Regions from separate parts of the Homo sapiens genome. Here regions 1 and 2 are each linked to region 3. The links are contacts of gene promoters, found by promoter capture Hi-C in human tissues and cell types (Jung and others, 2019). All regions are on one chromosome and are shown on one strand. Each heading gives the region's core, a stretch centred on a gene start or on the middle of the fragment in contact. The rest is flanking DNA. Distances are from core to core; before and after follow the strand shown.

Region 1 (3,227 bases), core at 139-2,638, 40 kb after region 3:
ACAGAAGACAGAACATGACCATACAAAAAAATGGAAAGATAATCTGATATTGAAAGCTTGCTTCATTTCCATTCCTCTCTAATATTAATGGTGTGACTGGAGGTGAGAACAGCTTGCTATAAACACAGTCCCAGGAGTCCTCATTCAGCTTCAAGTGTGTGCCTGTGTGTGTGTCTGTACTAATTGTGCATATGTGTGTCTGTCTTTAGTGGGGAGAGTGATTTCAAAATAACATCATTAAACAGAATTGAAAGGAGCCTTGCTAATTAACTGAAACAAGATATGAAGTAGCAATAATTTAATGTTTTCAACATGGATAAATAATTAAAGTTGCAAAGACCTAGGCATAAAAGAATATGACATACAAATGAGGTAGAGATATCCCTTTTAAGAGTAGAGGGACGCAGTGGCTCACGCCTGTAGTCCCAGTACTTTGGGAGGCCGAGGCAGGCAGATCACGAGGTCAGGAGATCGAGACCATCCCGGCTAACATGGTGAAACCCTGCCTCTACTAAAAATGCAAAAAAATTAGCCGGGCGTGGTGGCGGGCGCCTGTAGTCCCAGCTACTTGGGAGGCTGAGTCAGGAGAATGGTGTGAACCTGGGAGGCGGAAGTTGCAGTGAGCCGAGATCGCGCCACTGAACTCCAGCCTGGGCAACAGAGCGAGACTCCGTCTCAAAAAAAAAAAAAAAAAAAAAAAAAGTAAAGGGACCTGGACTCAATATATTCCAAAAGGTGACTCAGAATACAGAGGTCAGCACGCAAGGCAGCATATGGAAATAAACAAAGGATGCATTTCAATTCATGGGACATGGAGCCAATTTATTAAAGTGCAAATAGAAAACATCAGGACAAGCCTGGGCGTGGTGGCTCACGCCTGTAATCCCAGCACTTTGGGAGGCCGAGACAAAAGGATCACTTGAGGTCAGGAGTTTGAGACCAGCCTGGCCAACATGGTGAAGCCCCATCTCTACCAAAAAATATAAATCTTAGCAGGGCATGGTAGCAGGCACCTGTAGTCTCAGCTACTTGGGAGGCTGAGGCAGGAGAATCTCTTGAACCCAGGAGGTGGAGGTTGCAGTGAACCCACATCATGCCACTGCACTCCAGCCTGGCCGACAGAGTGAGACTCTGTCTCAAAACCAAACCAAACCAAACAAAATCTGGGCAGAGGGACTTCTTGTATTTTGAAGCTTCAGCAGCAATGAAGTCACCTCATAGTGCAACATCTTCTGACACCATCTCCCATCACTTACCTCTCACAGATTTCCCTGCCACACTGGCTTCCTCGTTGGCCTTGAACATCTGAAACCTTCCTCTACACCTTTGCACCGGCCATTCTTTCTGCTGGGCACACACATTCCCAGATATCCTCATGGCTCCCGCCCTGTCTTCCTTGAGGTCTCATTTCTCTTTTTAAAAATTTCAGCTTTTCTTACAGATTAAAGGGTACATGTGCAGGTTTGTTACACGGGTAAATTGTGTGATGCTGAGGCTTCGGGTCCTAACAATCCCATCACTCAGGAGGTAAGCATAGGACCCAACAGATGGTTCTTCAGCTCACATCCCCCTCCCTCCATCCTCTGTCCAGCGGTCTCCAGTGTCAATTGTTCCCATCTTTGTGTTCACGTATATTCGATGTTTAGCTACCATTTATAAGTGAGAACATGCGATATTTGGTTTTCTGTTCTTGCATTAGGTCGCTCAGAATAACGGCCTCTAGCTTCATCCATGTAGCTGGAAAGGACATGATTTCATTCTTTTTTATGGCTGCCTAGTATTCCATGGTGTATAAGTACCACAGTTTCTTTGTCCAATCCACTATTGATGGGCACCTATCACCTTGACTGCTAGTATTCTCTGGACACCTAGGAAAATTAACATCCTCTATCCACCCTCGCCTTTTTACCTTCTTTCTTTTTCTTGCTAGCCCTGGTTACCATCTGACACAGTATATGATTTACTTGTATTCTTCTCCATACTTCACTGTAGGAACTTTTGTTTTTCAGCACTGTTCACTCATTGTCTAGACAGAGCCTGGAACGTTGACAACACTCAATTTAAATTCCTCAAATCCATGAAAGAATTTATCATTAAAGTATTGGTTTTTGTTTTGTTTTGTTTTGTTTTGTTTGAGATGGAGTTTTGCTCTTGTAGCCCAGGCTGGATGGAGTGCAATGGCGCCATCTTGGCTCCCTGCAACCTCTGCCTCTCAGGTTCAAATGATTCTCCTGCCTCAACCTCCCGAGTAGCTGGGATTACGGGCACGCACCACCACATCCGGCTAACTTTGTATTTTTAGTAGAGATGGGTTTTCTCCATGTTGGTCAGGCTGGTCTTGAACTCCCGACCTCAGGTGACCCGCCCACCTCTGCCTCCCAAAGTGCTGGGATTACAGGTGTGAGCCACCGCACCCGGCAAAGTTTTTAAATAAATGACCATTTGGGGAAAAGTTGAGCATCATGGGAAAGGAATTCCTAAGCAGAGATGGGATGGGAGATCTCATAAAGTAGACCAGATTCACACACAAAATATAGAAATTAACTTGCTGACTGTAGGATATAAATAATAGCTTTTCTGATGGGTGAAAAAAGCATGCTTATGTCATGTATTTTCTCTCTCTCTCTTTTTTTTTTTTTTATAGTCACCTCTACCACATGGAACCAGAGAATGATACACGAATTTCAGAATTTCGACTTCTGGGATTTTCAGAAGAACCCAGACTGCAACGATTTCTCTTTGGTAAAAGGCAAAAGATTTATACAATTTGAAGAGAAACCAGAGCATAACGATTTCTCTTTGGAGTGTTCTTATCCATGTACCTCATCATTGTATTTGGAAACTTGCTTATCATCCTGGTTATCATTTTATGCTCCCACCTCCACACCTCCATGTACTTCTTTCTCTCCAACCTGTCCTTTGTAGACATCTGTTTTGCCTCCACCAGGGTCCCAAAGATGCTGGTGAATATCCAGGCACAGAGCAAAGTCATCACCTCTGCAGGCTGCATCACCCAGATGTACTTTTTCATACATTTTGTAGGATTGGACAGCTTCCTCCTGACTGTGATGGCCTATGACCGGTTTGTGGCCATCTGTCACCCCCTGTACTACACGGTCATCATGAACCCTCAACTCTGTGGATTGCTGGTTCTGGTATCCTGGATCACAAGTGTCTTGCATTCCTTATTACATAGCTTAATGGTGCTGCAGTTGTCCTTATGCAGA
Region 2 (3,498 bases), core at 62-2,561, 57 kb before region 3:
TTTCAAATCCAGCAAAGAGTATGAAAAAATACATCTGCATGAGGCAGGCTATGTAGGTGATGACTTTGTTCTGTGTCTGGATGTTCATCAGCATTTTTGGAATGGTGGTGGAAGTAACACAAATGTCAGCAAAGGACAGGTTGGAGAGGAAGAAGTACATGGGGGTGTGGAGGTGGGAGTCTGAGATTGTGGCCAGGATGATGAGCAGGTTCCCGAGCACAGTGACCAGGTACATGGACAGGAACAGCCCAAAGAGGAAGGGTTGCAGTCCAGGTTCTTGTGAAAATCCCAGAAGAAGAAATTCTGAAATTTGTGTATCATTTCCTGGTTCCATTTGATTGAAGTGACTATCAGAGAGAGAGAGAGAAAGAGGGAAACGAGACAGGCATGCATTGCTAACCTTTCAGAAATACCATCATTTATATTTTATAGCCAATAAATTATCTTACATTTTGTGTATGAATCTGGTTCTCTTTAAGGGATCTCCATGTCATCTCTGATTAGGAACTCCTTCCCACTCTCAGCCTTAACTGAAGACAGCGTACATTCTGCAGTTAGAATAAGAACTTCTGGCTGGGCACGGTGGCTTATGCCTGTAACCCCAGCACTTTGGGAGGTCAAAGCAGGCGGATCACGAGGTCAAGAGGTTGAGACCATCCTGGCCAACATGGTGAAACCCTGTCTCTAGTAAAAATACAAAAATTAGCCTGGTGTAGTGGCATGCGCCTGTAGTCCCAGCTACTTGGGAGGCTGAGGCAAGGAGAATCTCTTGACCCCGGGAGGCAGAAGTTGCAGTGAGCTGAGATCATGCCACTGCACTCCAGCCTGGTGACAGAGCGAGACTCCATCTCAAAAAAAAAAAAAAAAAAAAAAAAAAAAAGAATGAGAACTTCTTCTATGAATTTGAGGAATATAAATTGAATGTTGACCATGTTCTTGTCACTGTCTAGATAATGAGTGAACAATGCTGAGAAACAAAAGTCCCTACAATCTAATGATGAAGAAAGAATATAAACAAATTAAACAATCGAATATAAACAAATTAAACAATCACATAATATGTCAGATGGGAACAGGCGCTTGGAAAATAAACAAAGCAGGTAAAAAGGAGGGAGGGTATGAAGTGTTTCTTTTGTTTTTTGTTTGTTTGTTTGCTGATTATTATTCAAGACCTGCAAACAAGGTGATGTTTGAAAAAAGATCTCAAGGAAGACAGGGCAAGATTCATGAAGTTATCTGTTGAAGTGGGTGCCTGGCAGGAGGAATGGCAGTACAAAAACTTTGAGGGATGTGCTTCTTTCTTGTTTTCTTTTTTGAGACAGAGTCTCGCTCTGTTGCCGGGCTGGAGCGCAGTGGCGCAATCTCAGATCACTGCAACCTCCACCTCCCAGGTTCAAGCGATTCTCCTGCCTCAGCCTCCCGAGTAGCTGGGATTACAGGCATGCACCACCACGCCCAGCTAATTTTGTATTTTTAGTAGAGACGGGGTTTCTCCATGTTGGTCAGGCTGGTCTTGAACTCCCAACCTCAGGTGATCCGCTCACCTCGGCCTCCCAAAGTGCTGGGATTATAGGCATGAGCCACTGCACCTGGTTGGGACGTGCTTCTTTCAGATGTTCAAGTCCAACACAGAAGCCAGTGTGGCCAGGGAATCAGTAAGACGGAGAGTGATGGGACATGGTGTCAGAGGATGTTGCAGAATAAGGGGACCTGGCTGTCAAAACATCAAGGGACAAAGTGTCCATCTGTCTAGATGCTGTTGCACCTGCACTTTATTAACTGGACTAGAAAGGTGTCACATCAATTGAAATGCATCCCCTCTTTATTTCCTTCTGGTGTCTTGGGTTCTGGCCTCTGTTTCATTGGTCTCCTTTATAATAAAATATATTGAGGCCAGGTCCCTCTTGCTCTGAAACCTGCTGTCACTCCAAAGACATGCAGCCACACACTCACTCACACACACATATACACATGCAGCACACTGGCCGAAGAGGGCCCAGGCAGGAGTGCAGTGGTGTGATCATAGCTCACTGCAGCTTCAACCACCCAGGCTCAAGCCATCCTCCTGCCTCAGCCTCCCAAGTAGTTGGGACCACAGCCATGTGCCGCCACCCTTGGCTGATTTCTACATTTTTTGTGGAGACCAGGTCTGCCTATGTTGCCCAGGCTGGTCTTGAACTCCTGGCCTCAAGTGAACCTTCCACTTTGGCCTCCCAAAGTGCTGGAATTACAGGCATGAGCTACTGCATTTGGCTCAAGGAAAGCTTTTAATATCAGATTCTTTTTTCCCTACAGAATGTAGAATTGGTACAAGAAATTCCAGTTCACAAGTCTGTATACACATGTAAACTTGGACTTCCATTTTGGTATGACTGTTTTCAGCCCTGTGTTTAAAGAAACATAAAAGAGCTGTTCAATAAACAGAGTGAGAGAAATTAAACAGACCCCAGTAAGGAAAAAGTCTAATAAACTCAGGTAATCCCTCAGCAAAAGGACAAAAATACATTGCAAGGGTGCAACGGGTAGGTTAGCAAGAAAGGAACTGACTCCAAGGAGACAAAGGCTTGCTGGGGATCTTATAGGATGGAAAATAAAAGCGACCCTGGTTATGGTTACATTTCAGCTTCCATTGTATCTCCTCGATGCCTGGCAAAATAAATAAAAGATCAAAAATAAAGAATTCTGACATCTTTATTGACTTCATGGTTTTTAATTTAACAATAGTATTTAATTATGTCGGTTTTAATGATTATTAAAGTTTTAGCTTTCCTTTTGGAACTAGAAATAAGTAAATAAAGTTATCCAAAAGACAAGACTGTGGAGTCCTAATTAGGGAAATGGAGTCAGGCTGGCTGAAGCAGGGAAAAACAAAAAGAGAAGATAGATAAGCTCTAAGTCTGCCTTTCTTCATGGTCCAGGACACACAACCCTCGTGTGCCAATGACTCACAATCTTCCTGCACCCGTCTTATCACCTGACCCTCAGCTGATGGAAAAATGCAAGTTAGCTCACTGCAACCTTGGCATTATCAGTACCGCACAAAGCCCTCTTCAGCTCGCAGCACAAGCACTATCCTATAAAATCCCCAGCAAGCCTTTGCCTCCTTGCAGTCAGCTCCTTTCTTGCTAACCTGCCCATTGCACCCTTGCAATGTATTATTATCCTTTCTCTAATTAAATTTGCCTTTCTTTATCTACAACTGTCTTGGTAAATTCTTACTGCCTACATGATGCCGGCCCCAGATAGCTGCTACCCATGACAAAAACTAATGATACCTTTTTTGGCAACAAAGGTACAGATCGCATATCCTAATAGAAAAATGGAGCAAAGAGAATAAGCCAACAATTCACAAAAAGAAACATACAAACAATGACAAGATTTGGGCATTTTTATATGAAACAGTAAAAGACTCATTTTTTTCTGTGCCTATTCCATATTTACTTGATCAATTGGTTTTTATATGAATTGAGAGTGGATGAAGCAGTCCCTTTCTCACTT
Region 3 (3,237 bases), core at 602-3,101:
TTAAATATTTCATTAACAGTCAATGAGGAGGGCAATATAATTGGATCACAGCTGTAATCCCAGTGCTTTGGGAGGCTGAGTAGGGAGGTCACCTGAAGCCAGGATTTTGAGAACAGCCGGGGCATCATAGTGAGAACCAGGCTCTAAAAAGTAAACCAAAAAAGTTAACGATCCCAAAGAAATACAAACTCCCATCAGAGAATACTATAAACACCTCTATGCAAATAAGCTAGAAAATCTAGAAGAAATGGATAAATTCCTGGACACATACACCCTCTCAAGACTAAACCAGGAAGAAGTCAAATCCCTAAATAGACCAATAACAAGTTCTGAAATTGAGGCAGTAATTAATAGCCTACCAACCAAAAAGAGGCCCAGGACCAGTCAGTTTCACAGCTGAATTCTGCCGGAGGTACAGAGAGGACCTGGTATCACTCCTTCTGAAACGATTTCAAACAATGGAAAAAGAGGGACTCCTCCCCAGCTCAATTTATGAGGCCAGCATCATCCTGATACCAAAACCTGGCAGAGACACAACAAAAAAAGAGAAAATTTCAGGCCAATATCCCTGATGAACATCAATGTGAAAATCCTCAGTAAAATACTGGCAAACTGAATCCAGCAGCACATCAAAAAGCTTATCCAGCATCATCAAGTCGGCTTCATCCCTGGGATGCCAGGCTGGTTCAACATATGCAAATCAATAAATGTAATCCATCACATAAATAGAACCAATGACAAAAACTACATGATTATCTCAATAGATGCAGAAAAGTCCTCCGATAAAATTCAACTCCCCTTCATGCTAAAAACTCTCAGTAAACTAGGTATTGATGGAACATAACTCAAAATAATCAGAGCTATTTATGACATACCCACAGCCAATATCATACTGAATAGGCAAAAGCTGGAAGCATTCCCTTTGAAAACTGGCACAAGACAAGTGTGCCCTCTCTCACCACTCCTATTCAACATAGTGTTGGAAGTTCTGGCCAGGGCAATCAGGCAAGAGAAGGAAGTAAAGGGTATTCAAATACAAAGAGAGGAAGTCAAATTGTCTCTGTTTGCAGATGACATGATTGTATATTTAGGAAACCCCATCGTCTCAGCCCAAAATCTCCTTAAGCTGATAAGCAACTTCAGCAAAATCTCAGGATACAAAATCAATGTGCAAAAATCACAAGCATTCCTATACAGCAATAATAGACAGAGAGCCAAATCATGAGTGAACTCCCATTCACAATTGCTACAAAGAGAATAAAATACCTAGGAATATAACCTACAAGGGATGTGAAGGACTTCTTCAAGGAGAACTACAAACCACAGCTCAAGGAAATAAGAGAGGACACAAACAAATGGAAAAACATTCCATGCTCATGGAAAGGAAGAATCAATATCTTGAAAATGGCCATACTGCCCAAAGTAATTTATAGATTCAATGCTATCCCCATCAAGCTAACATTGACTTTCTTTACAGAGTTACAAAAACTACTTTAAATTTCATATAGAACCAAAAAATAGCCCGTATAGCCAAGACATTTCTAAGCAAAAGGAACAAAGCTGGAGGAAATGATTGGCTCTCAGGTGACCTCAGGTTAATATTCACGGCTCTTGTTCTTCCTGACCTTTCCTACAGTACCCACTGGGCTCTGGGACTTACCCTACTGAGTTTTCTGAAAGGAAGGTCTCCATGGAGAAGTGTAAATTCCTCTCTAGCAGGTTGATGGTGGAGATGGAATCTCTGTCTCAAGACAAGGCATCAGGAAAAGTTGAAGCATCATCTATACTTGAGCCAGACTAAGGACTCCAAATGAAACCACCATGTCATTTCCAGCCCAAGGTTGCATATGCTGAGGGACTGCAGCAGAGGAGATATTTATGGCTTCGTATATCTGCTGATTAGATACCTTTCCTCCTGTTATTCCAACTCTGAACACATCAGTTTCCTGGGGGACGTTGCCCTGCACTGAAACAAATGTCATTGTTGTTTTTTTTTTCTGTATCGTCTATTCCCAAGACACTATGTTAAAAGTGAGGTGTATCCAGGCTTTATTACTCCTTCCCCGTGGACTTCCTTGGCTTCCAGAGTCCCATTCTCCTAGCACCTTCTCCCAGCCTTCAGTGAAAATTTCCTCCAAAGTCTAAACTGAGGAACCTGTCTTGACTAGGTCCCTTGAGTCTCCAAAGCACTGGCTTGTGATGGAAACTCAGCTCTTGACATATCCAGAAAATGGCAATTTACCTTTGCAAGGAGATGAACTGTGTTCTGTTCATATAAAACCATGGGTACTACATTTCTTGGCTTCATGTTGCTTTTGCCAAAACATTAGAATTTCATATATATATTTTTTTGAGATGGAGTCTTGTTGTATCACCTGAGCTGGAGTGCAAAAACATTAGCCGGGTGTGGTGGCAGTTGCCTGTAATCCCAGCTATGCAGGAGGCTGAGGCAGGAGAATTGCTTGAACCCGGGAGGTGGAGGTTGCAGTGAGCCAATATGGCGCCATTTCTCTCCAGCCTGGGTAATAAGAACAAAACTCCATCTCACTAAAAAAAAAAAAAAAAGTGTTAGAACAGGCAAGCAGGATCAACTGATTAAGTTCACAGAAAAAAATGGGGGGATTTCCAAGTTTGTGCAGAAGGACAGCTGCAACACATTCTGCTTTGCAGTGAGGAATTCAGGGCACTCATGCTCCAGGACACCAGAACCCACAGTCCAAAGATCCCAGGATTCATGATGACCCTGTAGTGCAGGGGGTGACAGATGGCCACAAAGTGGTCATAGGCCATCACAGTCTGCAGAAATACATTCATCCCTGCAAAGAGTAGGAAAAGTTTGTGATTCTGGAAAAGTTTCTTGGGAAAGGACATGCCTTGCTTCTCGGAGACAGAAATTTGTGATCATGAAGGGACACCTGCTTCCAGGGGTCCACACGGGGAGGAGATTGCATGAGTGTCCTTCCACGTCTGCTTTATTATACTCAGGGACATCTTCTCTGTCCTCCTCTGCCTGGCTCCAAAAATTCACATTAAAAATGTTTAGACTCCTTTTATTTTATTTTATGTTCTGGGGTACATATGCAGGATGTGCAGGTTTGCTACATAGGTAAACGTGTGCCATGGTGGTTTGCTGCACCTATCAATCCATCACCTAGGTATTAAGCCCCACAGGCATTAGCTAGTTTTCCTAAGGTTCTCCCTCCCCCCCACCCCACCCCCCAACAGGGCTCAGTGTGT

The links. Contacts are between HindIII fragments. The study calls those that stand out against the background at their distance.
Region 1: a fragment that was not itself captured here is called in contact with the fragment with the promoter of OR7A17 in region 3 in 2 of the 25 tissues and cell types used here (H1 embryonic stem cells and adrenal gland).
Region 2: a contact is called between a fragment that was not itself captured here and the fragment with the promoter of OR7A17 in region 3, in 3 of the 25 tissues and cell types used here (aorta, liver and psoas muscle).

Annotation. Positions count from the first base shown.
Region 1 is chr19:14,924,395-14,927,621 of GRCh38, forward strand. It overlaps the pseudogene OR7A15P. Among named protein-coding and RNA genes, the nearest start is that of OR7C2, 15 kb to the right of the region's middle. The HindIII fragment of the contact is 7,045 bases long and covers 1-3,227 here.
Region 2 is chr19:14,827,908-14,831,405 of GRCh38, forward strand. The region is part of intron 1 of OR7C1 (olfactory receptor family 7 subfamily C member 1); the gene reads right to left. It overlaps OR7A5 (olfactory receptor family 7 subfamily A member 5), which reads right to left. Exons shown (of 2, transcript NM_017506.2): 2 at 1-347. The coding sequence starts at 334. Among named protein-coding and RNA genes, the nearest start is that of OR7A5, 5.5 kb to the right of the region's middle. The HindIII fragment of the contact is 4,789 bases long and covers 1-3,498 here.
Region 3 is chr19:14,884,281-14,887,517 of GRCh38, forward strand. OR7A17 (olfactory receptor family 7 subfamily A member 17) reads right to left here and starts at 1,852. Exons shown (of 3, transcript NM_030901.2): 1 at 1,661-1,852. It also overlaps the pseudogene OR7A18P. The HindIII fragment of the contact is 7,391 bases long and covers 1-3,237 here.